Linked DNA regions of Homo sapiens: region 2 is linked to region 1. The links are contacts of gene promoters, found by promoter capture Hi-C in human tissues and cell types (Jung and others, 2019). All regions are on one chromosome and are shown on one strand. Each heading gives the region's core, a stretch centred on a gene start or on the middle of the fragment in contact. The rest is flanking DNA. Distances are from core to core; before and after follow the strand shown. Region 1 holds the start of RINT1 (RAD50 interactor 1). Region 2 overlaps SRPK2 (SRSF protein kinase 2).

The links. The method cuts DNA at HindIII sites, captures the fragments that hold promoters and counts their contacts. A contact is called where the count stands out against the background at its distance.
Region 2: a contact is called between a fragment that was not itself captured here and the fragment with the promoter of RINT1 in region 1, in 2 of the 25 tissues and cell types used here (lymphoblastoid cells and spleen).

The regions. Positions count from the first base shown.
Region 1 is chr7:105,528,972-105,535,208 of GRCh38, forward strand. It overlaps RINT1 (RAD50 interactor 1), which reads left to right and starts at 3,230. Exons shown (of 15, transcript NM_021930.6): 1 at 3,230-3,386; 2 at 3,853-3,898. The coding sequence starts at 3,345. It also overlaps the pseudogene LOC100131785. RefSeq lists enhancers at 2,511-2,560, 2,848-3,425, 3,011-3,310, 3,401-3,580, 3,426-4,002. The HindIII fragment of the contact is 3,792 bases long and covers 1,075-4,866 here.
Region 2 is chr7:105,214,036-105,220,272 of GRCh38, forward strand. All of the region lies in intron 2 of SRPK2 (SRSF protein kinase 2), which reads right to left. Among named protein-coding and RNA genes, the nearest start is that of SRPK2, 170 kb to the right of the region's middle. The HindIII fragment of the contact is 9,081 bases long and covers 1-6,237 here.

The DNA.
Region 1 (6,237 bases), core at 1,980-4,479:
TTAGTAGAGACCAGGTTTCACCATGTTGGCCAGGCTGGTCTCGAACTCCTGGCCTCAAGCGATCCACGTGCCTTGGCCTCCCAAAGTGTTGGGATTACAGGCGTGAGCCACTGCACTTGGCCTATCTTTCCACTCTTGAAATTTTAATTTCTGCTGTCATATTTTTTCATCTCTGAATGCTTTTCTTATTTTATTTATTTTTACCCTCCCCATTTACAAGTGAGTGCTCCTTTTATTATTCATTTATTTATCTATTTAATTATTTATGTTTGAGACAGAGTTTTGCTTTGTTGCCCAGCTGGAGTGCAGTGGTGTAATCTCGGCTCGCTGCAACCTCTGCCTGCTGGGTTCAAGAGATTCTCCTGCCTCAGCCTCCTGGGTAGCTGGGATTACAGGCTCCCACCACCAGGCCTGGCTAATTTTTGTACTTTTAGTAGAGACAGGCTTTCACCATGTTGGCCAGGCTGGTCTTGAACTCCTGACCTCAGGCAATTTGTTCTGCCTCAGCCTCCCAAAGTGCTGAGATTACAGGCAGGAGCCACCGTGCCCAGCCAATGCTCCTTTTAAATAGTATCCTTTTCTCTCATATGTGGGAGCTTAACATTAAACAAATTGAATTCAAGGAGATAGAGAGTAGAATGATTGTTACCAAAGGCTGAAAGGGTAGCAGGGAGGAAGGCATAAATTGGGGATGGTTAATGGGTCCAAAAATACAGTTAGGGGCCAGGTGCAGTGGCTCATGGCTGTAATCCTAGCACTTTGGGAGGTCAAGACAGGAGAATCGCTTGAGCTCAGGAGTAGAGCCCAGCCTGGGCAACATAGCGAGTCACTGTCTCAACAAAAAAAAGTTAGCCAGGAATGGTGGTGCCAGTCTATAGTCCTAGCTACTCAGGAGGCTGAGGTGGGTGGATCCCTTGAGCCCAGGAGTTTGAGGTTACAGTGGGTTATGGCTGCACCACTGCACTCCTGCCTGGGCAACAGAGGGAGAACTTGTCTCAAAAAACAAACAAAAAAACCAAAACCAAAACAAATGACGACAACAACAACAATAAAACAGAGTGACTACAGTTAATAATTTATTGCATATTTTAAAATAACTAAAAGAGTGGAATTGGACTGTTCCTAACACAAAGAAATGATAAATTCTCAAGATGATCAATACCCCAGTTACTCGGATTTGATAGTTACACATTGTATACCTGTATCAAAACATCACATGTCAGACGGCTGGGCAGCCATGGCGTCCTATATCGATGAACACGACTGTGAGCCGTTGGACCCTCAAGCAGGAGACTCGAACCAACATGGTGCTGGAGCTCGTAAGGTCACTTTTGAATAGGATGGACTTTGAAGACTTGGGGTTGGTAGTAGATTGGGACCACCACCTGCCTCCACCGGCTGCCAAGATTGTGGTTGAGAACCTCTCCAGGACAGTCATCAGAGGCTCTCAAGGCTGAGCTCAAGTGCCCCGTGTATCTTTTGGAATCTGAGGAGGAGACTGCCATTGAGATGCTTCCCAACACCTTTTTCATTCCAGTTGCATTCTGCCCTGGCTAAGCAAGACAAATTCCTGTCCCTTGTGCCGCCATGAGCTGCCCACTGATGACTACACTTATGAGGAACACAGACGAGATAAGGCTCGAAAACAGCAGCAGCAGCAGAACCGACTGGAGAACCTCCATGGAGCCATGTACACGTGAGGAGGCTGGGGCTGAGCGCCGGTCCTCTGTGTCTTCCCTACAAACCTTGAATCCTCATTAAAATTTCTTTACCCGTCCCCCGCCCCGCCCCAGAAAAAAAGGCCGGGCGCAGTGGCTCACACCTGTAATCCCAGCACTTTGGTACGCCAAGGCGGGCAGTTCACCCGAGGCCGGGAGTTCGAGACCAGCCTGACTAACATGGAGAAACATCGTCTCTACTAAAAATACAAAATTAGACGGGCGTGGTGGTGCATGCCTGTAATCCCAGCTACTTGGGAGGCTGAGGCAGGCGAATCGCTTGAACCTGGGAGGCGGAGGTTGCTGCGAGCAGAGATAACGCCATTGCACCCCAGCCTGAGCAAAAAAAAAACAAACACACATGTACACTATAAATATATACGATTATGTTCCCATAATAGGTAATTTAAAAAATAGTATCCTTGTTTTTTTTTTTTTTTTTAAATGAGACGGAGTCTTGCTCTGTCGTCCAGGCTAGAGTGCAGTGGTGCGGTCTCTGCTCACTGCACGCTCCACCTCCCGGGTTCACGCCATTCTCCTGCCTCAGCCTCCTGAGTAGCTGGGACTACAGGCGCCCACCACCACGCCTGGCTAATTTTTTGTATTTTTAGTAGAGACGGGGTTTCACCATGTTAGCCAGGATGGTCTCGATCTCCTGACCTCGTAATCTGCCTGCCTCGGCCTCCCAAAGTGCTGGGATTACAGGCGTGAGCCACAGCGCCCAGCCATCCTTGTTTTATGCTTGCAATAGTAATTTGTAGCTCGATTATATATCTCTGTGCACATGTATTTGATTTTTCTTCTCACCGTGTGGTTTCTTTTTCCTCTGAGGGTTGCTTTCCCCCCCCCTTGTTTGTTATGGTCTCTATGGTACTCCTTCCGTGTTAGTTTGTTTAAGAGGCTGTCAAGTCCACAGGTCCTCTACACAACCCTTGCTGCTAGGTAGCTCCCTTTCCTCCTCCCTGGTAAAAGACAGGGTTTTGGGCGAAACACATGTTAGATGCTCTGTTCTCTTCATTCAGCTCCCAGAACGCTTATAACCACCTCTACACCCTCTAGGCAGGAAATCAGAAGCTCATCTCTAGGGACTCTGACCAACGTTAAAAGAAATATCTAAAGATACTGACATTCATTGGAAACCCCCAACTAAATATTCGAACCAAATAACCCTGCACCGAAGCTCCTAGTCAACAAGCCCCCCACACTCTCAGAACATCTGGATATTGCCTAAAATATAAATTTAAATTATTCATATTGAATTTAAGGCGTTGGGAGAGGGATATCTTAAAGTTCCATCATTAAGAGCTTCAATAAAGTGGAGGGGACTTTTACCGCGGTGGAGTGAGCGAATCCCTTCTCTGGAGCTCCATAGGGGAGGGTGCCCGCTTCCTGAGTGGCCGTTCCGACCTCCGGTCAGGAGGGGGAGGAACAGAGCACGGCCGGCGGCTGCACGGGCAGGGCCTCTCTGGGCTGAGAGGAAGAAACCAGTGAGACATCGAGAGGAAGTCGCTGTGGCACTCAGTCCTACGGCCTCCGAGGCTGGGTAGTGAGTGTGTCGCTGGCCTTAGCCAGACTCCACAGGCCACGCTGGCTGCGAATGGAGCCGAGGACTCGCGCGGAGGCGAGATGCTACCAGCCGGCGAGATCGGCGCCTCTCCTGCAGCCCCGGTGAGACGGCCCTGGCGTCCCTGGGAGGGGACATTGGTGGCCCATTGAGGTGGCACAGACCTCCCGGGGGAGATAGTCCCGGTGCGGTGGCCCTGTAAGCTTGTGAAGGTGCTTCCTGCGGCTTAGATTAGAGGCCCTTGTAAGACCTCCTAGAGGAGGCGGTAGTCCCCGTGAAGTGGCTTTGGCGGCCCTGGTGAGATGACAGATTTCTCTAGGGAGGTGGCTCTAGTGAGCAGGCAAGGTAACTCCAGGTCCTGCGGAGGTGACACACACCTCCTGGGAAGGTGGCGGTGGCACCAGGACAGTGGCACTTTGAGGTACCTGATTCGGACGGCCCTGGTCGCTCAGAAAGTGGGAGAGCGTCTGGAACCTCTCTTGCCTCCAGTGGGTGCCCTTTGGGAGCCCCGTATGCTTTCCATCCACGACTTTAATCTTAATGTGCTTGTCACATCTGTTCTTCTTCTAGTGCTGCTCTGAAAGTGGTGACGAAAGGAAGAACCTCGAGGAGAAAAGTAAGCCAGCTCCAAACACCTTAGCTTTTTCTTCCCGCCCAAACTCAGCCTTCCAGGGTCTGCAATATAGAAAGGTTCTTTGCCTATCTTTTAGATGCAGTACCGTTTTCTGCACAATATGCTTATATGGTAATACTGATGACCATGATACACATATTTTTGTCTTTCTAAAATTGTAAAATATGGGATGCTTTGGAGAAGAGCACTTCCCGATCCATACCTAGTACAGGGACTAGAGTGTTTTCGCTGGAAGTCTGCCTATCATACAGTACTCAGAATAATTGGGGCCTGCCTGTCATTTTAATGAAACATCAACTTACTAAGCATCAGGAATTTGGAGGGGCCCATGATCTAGGACAGACGACCACCACCCTAATTGGGTTCAAAGGAGGCAAATGACAGTTGTTTAGTTCACCTTCAGTAAATTGGCAATTTAAAATTGCTCTGGCAAGAGCACAACGGATAACTTGGGTTCTGGATCTTGGACTGGACAGGAAAGGGGGAAAAGGTCAGTACCACCATTTCCTCCCTAGTACGGGAGTATATGTCAGGGTTGTGGACTTTTGCCATTTTACTTTGATGGCAGGTTATTGCAAATCAAGGGCTCTTTAGGGACCTTTGAAGTGACATTTTTTGGGAGAGGAAGGGGAAAAGCATGTGATAGCTCTGCTATTGGGATTTTTGGTTCTTTTGACTGTGGCAAACAGTTGGGAATGTGTAGCAGTAAGAAAAACGGTGCCCACATTAGCACATGGCCCTTAGGAGTAAGATTTGCCCTTAACATTAGCGGCTGATAGAATCTGCCTCAGAAAGAAGGCTCTGAGCAGTCCATAGCACATGACTGTCATAACTGCCACATCTCAGCTCCTTTTTCTTGAAGGATTTCAGAGTGCCTTGTATCTCTCAGTTAAACCCTTCCCTTTCCATTTTCCACCTTTGCCTCATTCAGATGCCTGGAAAGTAGTCTGATGCCTACTGAGCTGTCATTTTAATAAAATAATAGATGTAGACTATCATATCAAGGACTTTGACCTTGTTCCTCTTTCCACAGCTCAAACTGCTTTGCAGTTAGGAGTGCTCTTTACAAAAAATAGAAAAGGAGACACATAAAAACCTCCCAAACCACCGGTGTGTCATTTTGAAGAATGTCATTTCACTAAGAATGTACTATGCCACATTTGAATGGTTACACATCAAGGGTGTAATTTTTTTTTTTTTTGAGACTTAGTCTCACTCTGTCTCTCAGGCTGGAGTGCAGTGGCGCGATCTCGCCTTACTGCAAGCTCCGCCTCTGAGTTCAAGTAATTCCCCTGCCTCGGCCTCCTCAGTAGCTGGGATTACTGGTGCCCGCCAAACACCCGGCTAATTTTTGTATTTTTAGTAGAGGCAGGGTTTCACCATTTTGGTTAGGCTGGTCTTGAACTCCTGACCTCAGGCAATCCACCGTCCTCGGCCTTCCAAAGTGCTGGGATTATAGGCATGAGCCACTGTGCTCAGTGGGTGTAATTTTTTTTAAAAAATGAAGGTAGAATTTCCTCCCTAAGATACAGCAACTTTAGCATTCACAAAACATTTCCTGCCTCCATTTATCTGCAGATACACCACACAAATCACTTGTTTTATTTAAGATTTAAAAAAGGCATTGTGAGTTCTGTACATAATAGTAGATTATTATACGTTAATATTATATATAATTATATAGTATAATTAATATATAATTTGTATTATATAGTCCCATTTATAACCTTGAGATATAGGCTGGGGCAAATGTTACAATTTGTTTTCTAGTTGGAAAATTGAGGCATAGTGTTATGTTAATATTGCCTCTCCTACCCTCTAAATTGTCAATTTAAAATTGCTCTGGGAAGGCACAATGTATAGCTTGGGTTCTGGATCTTGCACTGAACAGGAAAGGGGGAAAAGGTCAGTACCACCTCCTGATTCTCACAGCATGTGAAAAATCTTTTAATTTAATTCATATAAGTTAAGTAGAACAAAGGAAATTTTGTTTGTTGGGGTGTAGGGGTGGAGACAGGAACATACTCTGTATAAAACATTGGTATATATTCTGTTAATCTTTACATAAATAGTTGACCAATATCTGACATTTACATTTTGCACTTAGGCATATCATTATTTAGATATTAATATTAATAAGCCTAATGTGTATTGGACTTATTAAATGTCACAAAACAGGTAGTTTATTTGCCATGGAAAGAATCTCACTTTATACTATTTAGTGGTTGCATTTGTCATTTTGATTTTTTCCTAGTAATTTGTTCTCTCATATTTTCTTTTTTCTGTTTCTGACAAAGATATCTTTGTACAATGACATCGAT
Region 2 (6,237 bases), core at 1,287-3,786, 320 kb before region 1:
AAGACAAATTAATTAAAATGGAATAAAATTAAAAATTCAGTCATCCTCCTTCAAGCACTCAGTAGTCACATATGGCTGGTGGCTATGGCACAGTATGGGCAGTGCAGATATAGAACATTTCTATCACCACAGAAAGTTATATTGGACAGTAATGCTGCAGGCTCTAGATGCTGTAGCACTGCTCTAGGCATTTTTTTAAGGAGCATGAGCCTCTTCCAGCATATCACTATTTTTAATAAGTAGTAAGGTTAGCTGAAAAAGAGTTTAGAACATTTTTTATACAGCTTATTTTAAATACCTTACTGTAAGTTTTAAAATAAGCAGTAAAATGATAAACAGTCAGTATATAGCCATTTTAAATTTCACAGATGATTCCAATATCTGATACCCTGCAGCTCAGTAGTTCTCTTTAGTAGAATTCACCTTAGTGATACACACACTCTGTGGCAATGTCTGCAAACAGCAATATATTGGGATCTAAATGTCTATCAATAGGAAACTTGTTAATAACATTATGATAAAATTATGGCACAACCATACAAAACTCTCAAAAAGGATGAGGCAGAAGAAACAATTCTAGTCACAATAATAAAGTACATAGAAATAAATTAAACAAAAGAAGTTTAAAACGTACTATGAAAACTGCAATATCTTGTTGAAATTAAAGACCTAAATAAACAGAAGACATCCCATATTCATGGATTGGAGACTTAATACTGTTTGCCAATATGGGAAAATGCCCCCTACAGATTCAACAAAATCCCTATCAAAATCCCAGCCAGCTTCTTTGCTGAATTTGACAAGCCATTCCTAAAACTCATATGGAAATGCAAGGTCCCAGAATAGTCAAACAATCATGAAAAAGAAAAACACAAAACTGGGGGATTCGCACTTTCCAATTTCAAAACTTACTACAAAGCTATAGTAATCAAGACAATGTCGTACTGGCATAAGGATGAAGACCAATGGAACAGAATTGAGGGTCCAGAGATAAAGCCTTGCATTTATAGTCAACTGATTTCCAACTGATTGCCAAGACAATTCAATTGGGAAAGAATAGTCTGTTCAACAAATGGGGACGGAACAACCGAATATTCACATGTGAAAGAATAAAGCTAAATTCTTACCTCCCACCATACACAGAAACTAACTCATAATGGATCAAAGTCCTAAATATAAGAGCTAAAATTATAAAACTCCTAGGAAAGAGACACAACAATACTAGCCATCAGAAACATGAAAAAATCAAAACCACAATGAGATACCACTTCACACCTACTAGGATGGCAATAATCAAAAAGACAGATAACGAGACGTCAGTGACGTACAAAACAAGAGAACCCACAAGTATTGATGATGAAAATGGAAAATGGTGCAGCCAGTTTGGACAACAGTCTAGCAGTATCTCAGAAAGTAAAAAAGAGTTATGATGCAGCAATTCCACTCCTGGCATATACTCTGCAGAAATGAAAACATGTCCACACAAAAACGTGTACATGAACACTCACAGCCACACTTTCTTATAGCCTAAAGTAGAAACCACCCAAACATCCACTAACTGATGAATGGATAAATTAAAATGTGGTATATCCAATACAACAGACTATTACTCAACAATAAAAAGAAATGAAGTACTCATAGATGCTACCACATGGATGACCCCTGACAGCATTAAAGTATTATAAATCAAAGCCAGCCACCAAAGACCACATGTATGATTCAATTTGTATAAAATGATTACAATAGACAAATCTATAGAAACAGAAGGTAGATCAGTAACAGCGTAAGGCTGGAGGGGTACAGAAAATAGGGGTGACTACTCAAGTGTATGAAGTTTTTTGGGGGGGTGATAAAATAGTTATAAAATTAAGAGGGCTGGGTGCAGCTGCACAAGCTGATTGTCCCAGCTACTGTGCAGGCTGAGATGGGATAATCACTTGAGCTCAGGAGTTCAAGGCTATAATATGCCACGATCACACCTGTAAATAGCCACTGCACTCCAGCCTGGGCAATAGAGCATGACCCCATCTCTACAAAAAAAAAAAAAAAAAGTTAAATTATGTGGTTGATGGTTGCACAACTCTGAGTATACTGAAAAACCACTGAATGGTATACTTTAAATGGGTAATTACATGGTGTGCAATTAATCTTTTAATAAAGTTGTTATGCAAAAATAATGAAACACTTCTACATGTATTAATATGAAAGATATACACACTGATGAATAAAAAGATGCAGAGCACTGTGTATGCTATGTATCATTTGTTTTACACAGACATCCTAAGCACTGGATGGAGCAACAAGCCAATAATGGTTGTCTCCAGGAAAAGGAACTCAGTGACTGGTGAGATGAAGGAAAGGAGGTAATTTTTTCAAGATTCTTATCACCCCCCAAAAACTCCTTTCAGGAGTTCAAGACCAGTCTGGCCAATATGGTGAAAACTCATCTCTATCAAAAAAATACAAGTATTAGCAGGGCATGGTGGCACGCGCCTGTGGTCCCAACTACTCAGGAGGCTGAAGCAGGAGAATCACTTTAACTCGGGAGGCAGAGGTTGGCAGTGAGCCGAGATCGCACCACTGTACTCCAGCCTGGGCAACAGAATGAGACCCTGTCTCCAAAAAAAAAAAAAAAGAGAGAGAGAGAGAGACACCACCACAACAACAAAATAACTGTTACAGTCATGGTAAAGTTGCAACTAATTATCCTAGGGCTGGAGAGTCAAGATACAAGCCACAGTCCAAATGTACAGCTTTCTGGTAACAAGGCTCTAGGTTAGGCTGAATACCTGTTCCATCACTTACCAATCCATGAGAACTCAAGCCAGTGACCATTTCTCTAGGCTTCTGATGCACATTAGAGTGTTGTAAATATTAAAAGAGATGACACATAAATCCCCTGCCATGGTAACTGTGTACATGGTAGGCATTCAATAAAGGTTAATCCTCACCTCCCCACTCTTCTGGTATGTGGTGACAATAAAACTGTTTATTCAGGGTTCCAGCTGTGACCAATAAATACACCTTGATACATTACGCACGATACTGCTACAGGCCTTTTGGCATATCTGGAGTTCCTCCCATTCCTCTCTGTTCATCTCTGACTATCCTAACTGCAAAGGTCAACATCGATCCCACCACCTAACAACCCTCTGCTTCTAAATCTATGTATTTTATAATCATGATTAGTTAAGAGATTTCTTGAGAAGGTTACAAACAGTTAATTATCACATACTTCTACAAGGCAATATGACAAAGGCAGTATTTGGTGAGAAAAAAAAAGATTTAAAGTTGAACATAAAAAGTGACTTACCTAATTAAGCGGAATAGAAATTCAAAACATACAGTGGTGCTGAGACTAGCACCCATGAAACCAAATACTATAAATTATTCTCTCTTGCATTCACAGAAGACACAGAAGACACTGTGCCATACAGCACAACTGTATCTGACAAATGAAGACTGTCCTGAAATGTATCAAATCCATATACCTGACAGAGCAGGACTAAAGCCCCACCAGTGGAAGCATCCCACCAATGCAGACTGATACTCTCAGAACTGATTTTCTCCTTCCCTTGTGTCATGAATCTTGTGATTCTAACCCACAGTTCCAAATTCTGCAGGATTATCCCAAGTATAGAGAATATTCCTTATTTACTTGTTCAAGAAATACTTACAAAGCTCAAACTATTTTACTGCTAAAATGAGAAAAAAATGAGTCTTTTCTCATGGTACCAGGAATCTAACAGATAGATCAGATAGAAATAAAAATTAGAGCATAAAACAAGGCAGAACGTAGCTTGATAACATTACTTCTTTAATTAACTCAAGGCATATTCAATGTATCCAATTTCCAGTCTCCTGTATAATTCCCAGGGGATACAATAGCAAAAACAAAACATGTGGAAAGGTATACATGTTCTCTCCAGCTGGCTGAGTGCCTAAAAATTCTCAAAGAAAGGAGAGAAAATTGAAGAGGCCTATGACGAAGAAAAAGGTGTCAATAGATCTAGCTAGGAAAGGGCGTTCTAGGCAGGAGGACATGATGGCCTGAGCAGGAGAAGGTATGGCAGCAAGAAAGGGCTCATCCACTTCTGCCGGCACACAAGGTACCCAAAGGAGAATATTGGCAGAAGTGCTAGAGAAAGGTTGAGACCAGATTTTGACACCCTGGGGTGAAGAATTTGAAGTTAATTTGCTAGGAAATAAAATGCTACACAAAGTTAAATCTATTTCTTTCGGAAGCTATAACACAATAGTTCTCAAATAGAACTATACAGCACAAACAAGTGGAAGTTTTTCAAAATGCAAAAGTGAGAATCAAGAGATTCTTCTGACTCAGTAGGTCAGGAATGTAGCCTGGGAGCATGTCACCAGGTGACTGATACACACCCATGGTTAAGAATCAATGCTCCAAGGAATCATTACCATCTCTAACGGGTGTCAACTGGCAATGCACTAACGTGAGTTTATGGTCCAAACACAAGTAAGGAAAGTAGATACAAATAGACGTAGGTAAAGAAAGGCAGATAGAAATAAGAATTTGTAATGGTCCAAAAGGTTTAATGAAAAGGACCTCCACTTATAATAAATGATGTTTCCTAAGAAGTTACTGCATGAATCAGTTTTCAATCACCTACTACAAGTGAAGTAAAACTAATTTTTAGTGAATTCTATTAAAATATAAATAATCATACCACAATGTATTTAGAGTTCCAACTCAGAAAAGCATGCCTAAGGGAGTTATAATTTAAGCATGACTGGGGACTGAGTGACACCTTAAATATGACTGATAAATCCTATTCATTTTTCTTTTCTCCTTCGTAGTTGAAAAGAAAAAGAAGAAAACCCCAAAGAACAAATAAAAGAAAAAAAATCAAGGAACAAGAAATTCAACAATTTTTTTTAAAAAAATAATGAGAATAGAGAAGAGATGACAACTAGAAAGAACATAAGCAGCTATAAGCAAAAGTGGCCGCAGAAATAGATACTGACCAGAAAACAGTCCACCCTGGGACCACAAGAGCTTCAGCACTACAACCAGGGGCGGGGGAGACATTCTGGGGGATGATGCTGGAGACACATAGCTTCGTTGGATGGAGTGGTCGGCGCATACTTCCCACACTCCCACACCTCCAGTGTAACCAGATCACAATCTTTTCCAAGGCAGAAGACGGAACATTTTGGAGACACTAGGCACAAGGATATATAGTACTGGGCTAAGAAACAGTCTTTATGATGAACAGTTAGAATCAGACCAGGATCTTAGTCTCCTTACTCCACTCTGCTCCCAGAACATATCCCCGGCTCATGTCTACGCCCTGGACAGGAATACGGAGACTTCTTCACTGGAGAAACTAAATAGCCCCACTCAGGCCAGGCCTATGTATCATTATAACAGAATTACTTTTTTCACCCTTCCCTTTAAAACTAATGATCTTCAAGAAGACTTATGTTTTACTCACTAGGTTCTGCTCCTATATGCAAGATCCTTTCAGGCTTTTAAGTGCTAGAAGCCACTCCCTGTTTACTAAGTATGACGTTAGCTATGTGCCTAAGAACAGACTGAGCCTTAGTCCCTACGTACTTAGTAGAGCTCCTTACTTAGACATTAAATAACAGATGTTGAATGAAAAATCACAAGTGAAAAAGTATATGCCTAATGCTTGGTAAACTATTTAAGCCTACAATCTAATACTCTGATTTCATAATCTGACAGTGATCATAAACTTTTAAAATGTTACTCAAATTTGCAGTATTTAAGAGTAATATTTCCTACTCATTTATTTTCCCAAAATATGTAGGTACCGTGTGAAAGCACACAAAATTCTGTTTATTTAGTGGAGATAATGTTTCTATGTATTAGGAGTTCATGAGTAAAGAATCTTGCTAATGACTCAGCCACAAACTGGTGGCAAGAACAGGCAAAAATTCCTAACCAGTGTACACCTGACTTAGAGCCATGTAAGCCAAATAGCCTATTCATCACTACTTAGTAGGGAGAAGTTTAAGAACTCAAATAGTATCTGACTTAATCATAAAAAATGAAATACGGTTTAATCAAGTGATTAATGTTTTTAAAATAAGCAGGCAAAAAACTAAACATAGGGAAAAATAATGCAGTTTAAATGTGGCTATAAAATAAATACTTTATATACAGAATAAGTAGTTTTGTTTTTCCTAATTCTTAGATCCACTTACGATTTTAACAGTCTAGCTTGTGCCGGGTGTGGTGGC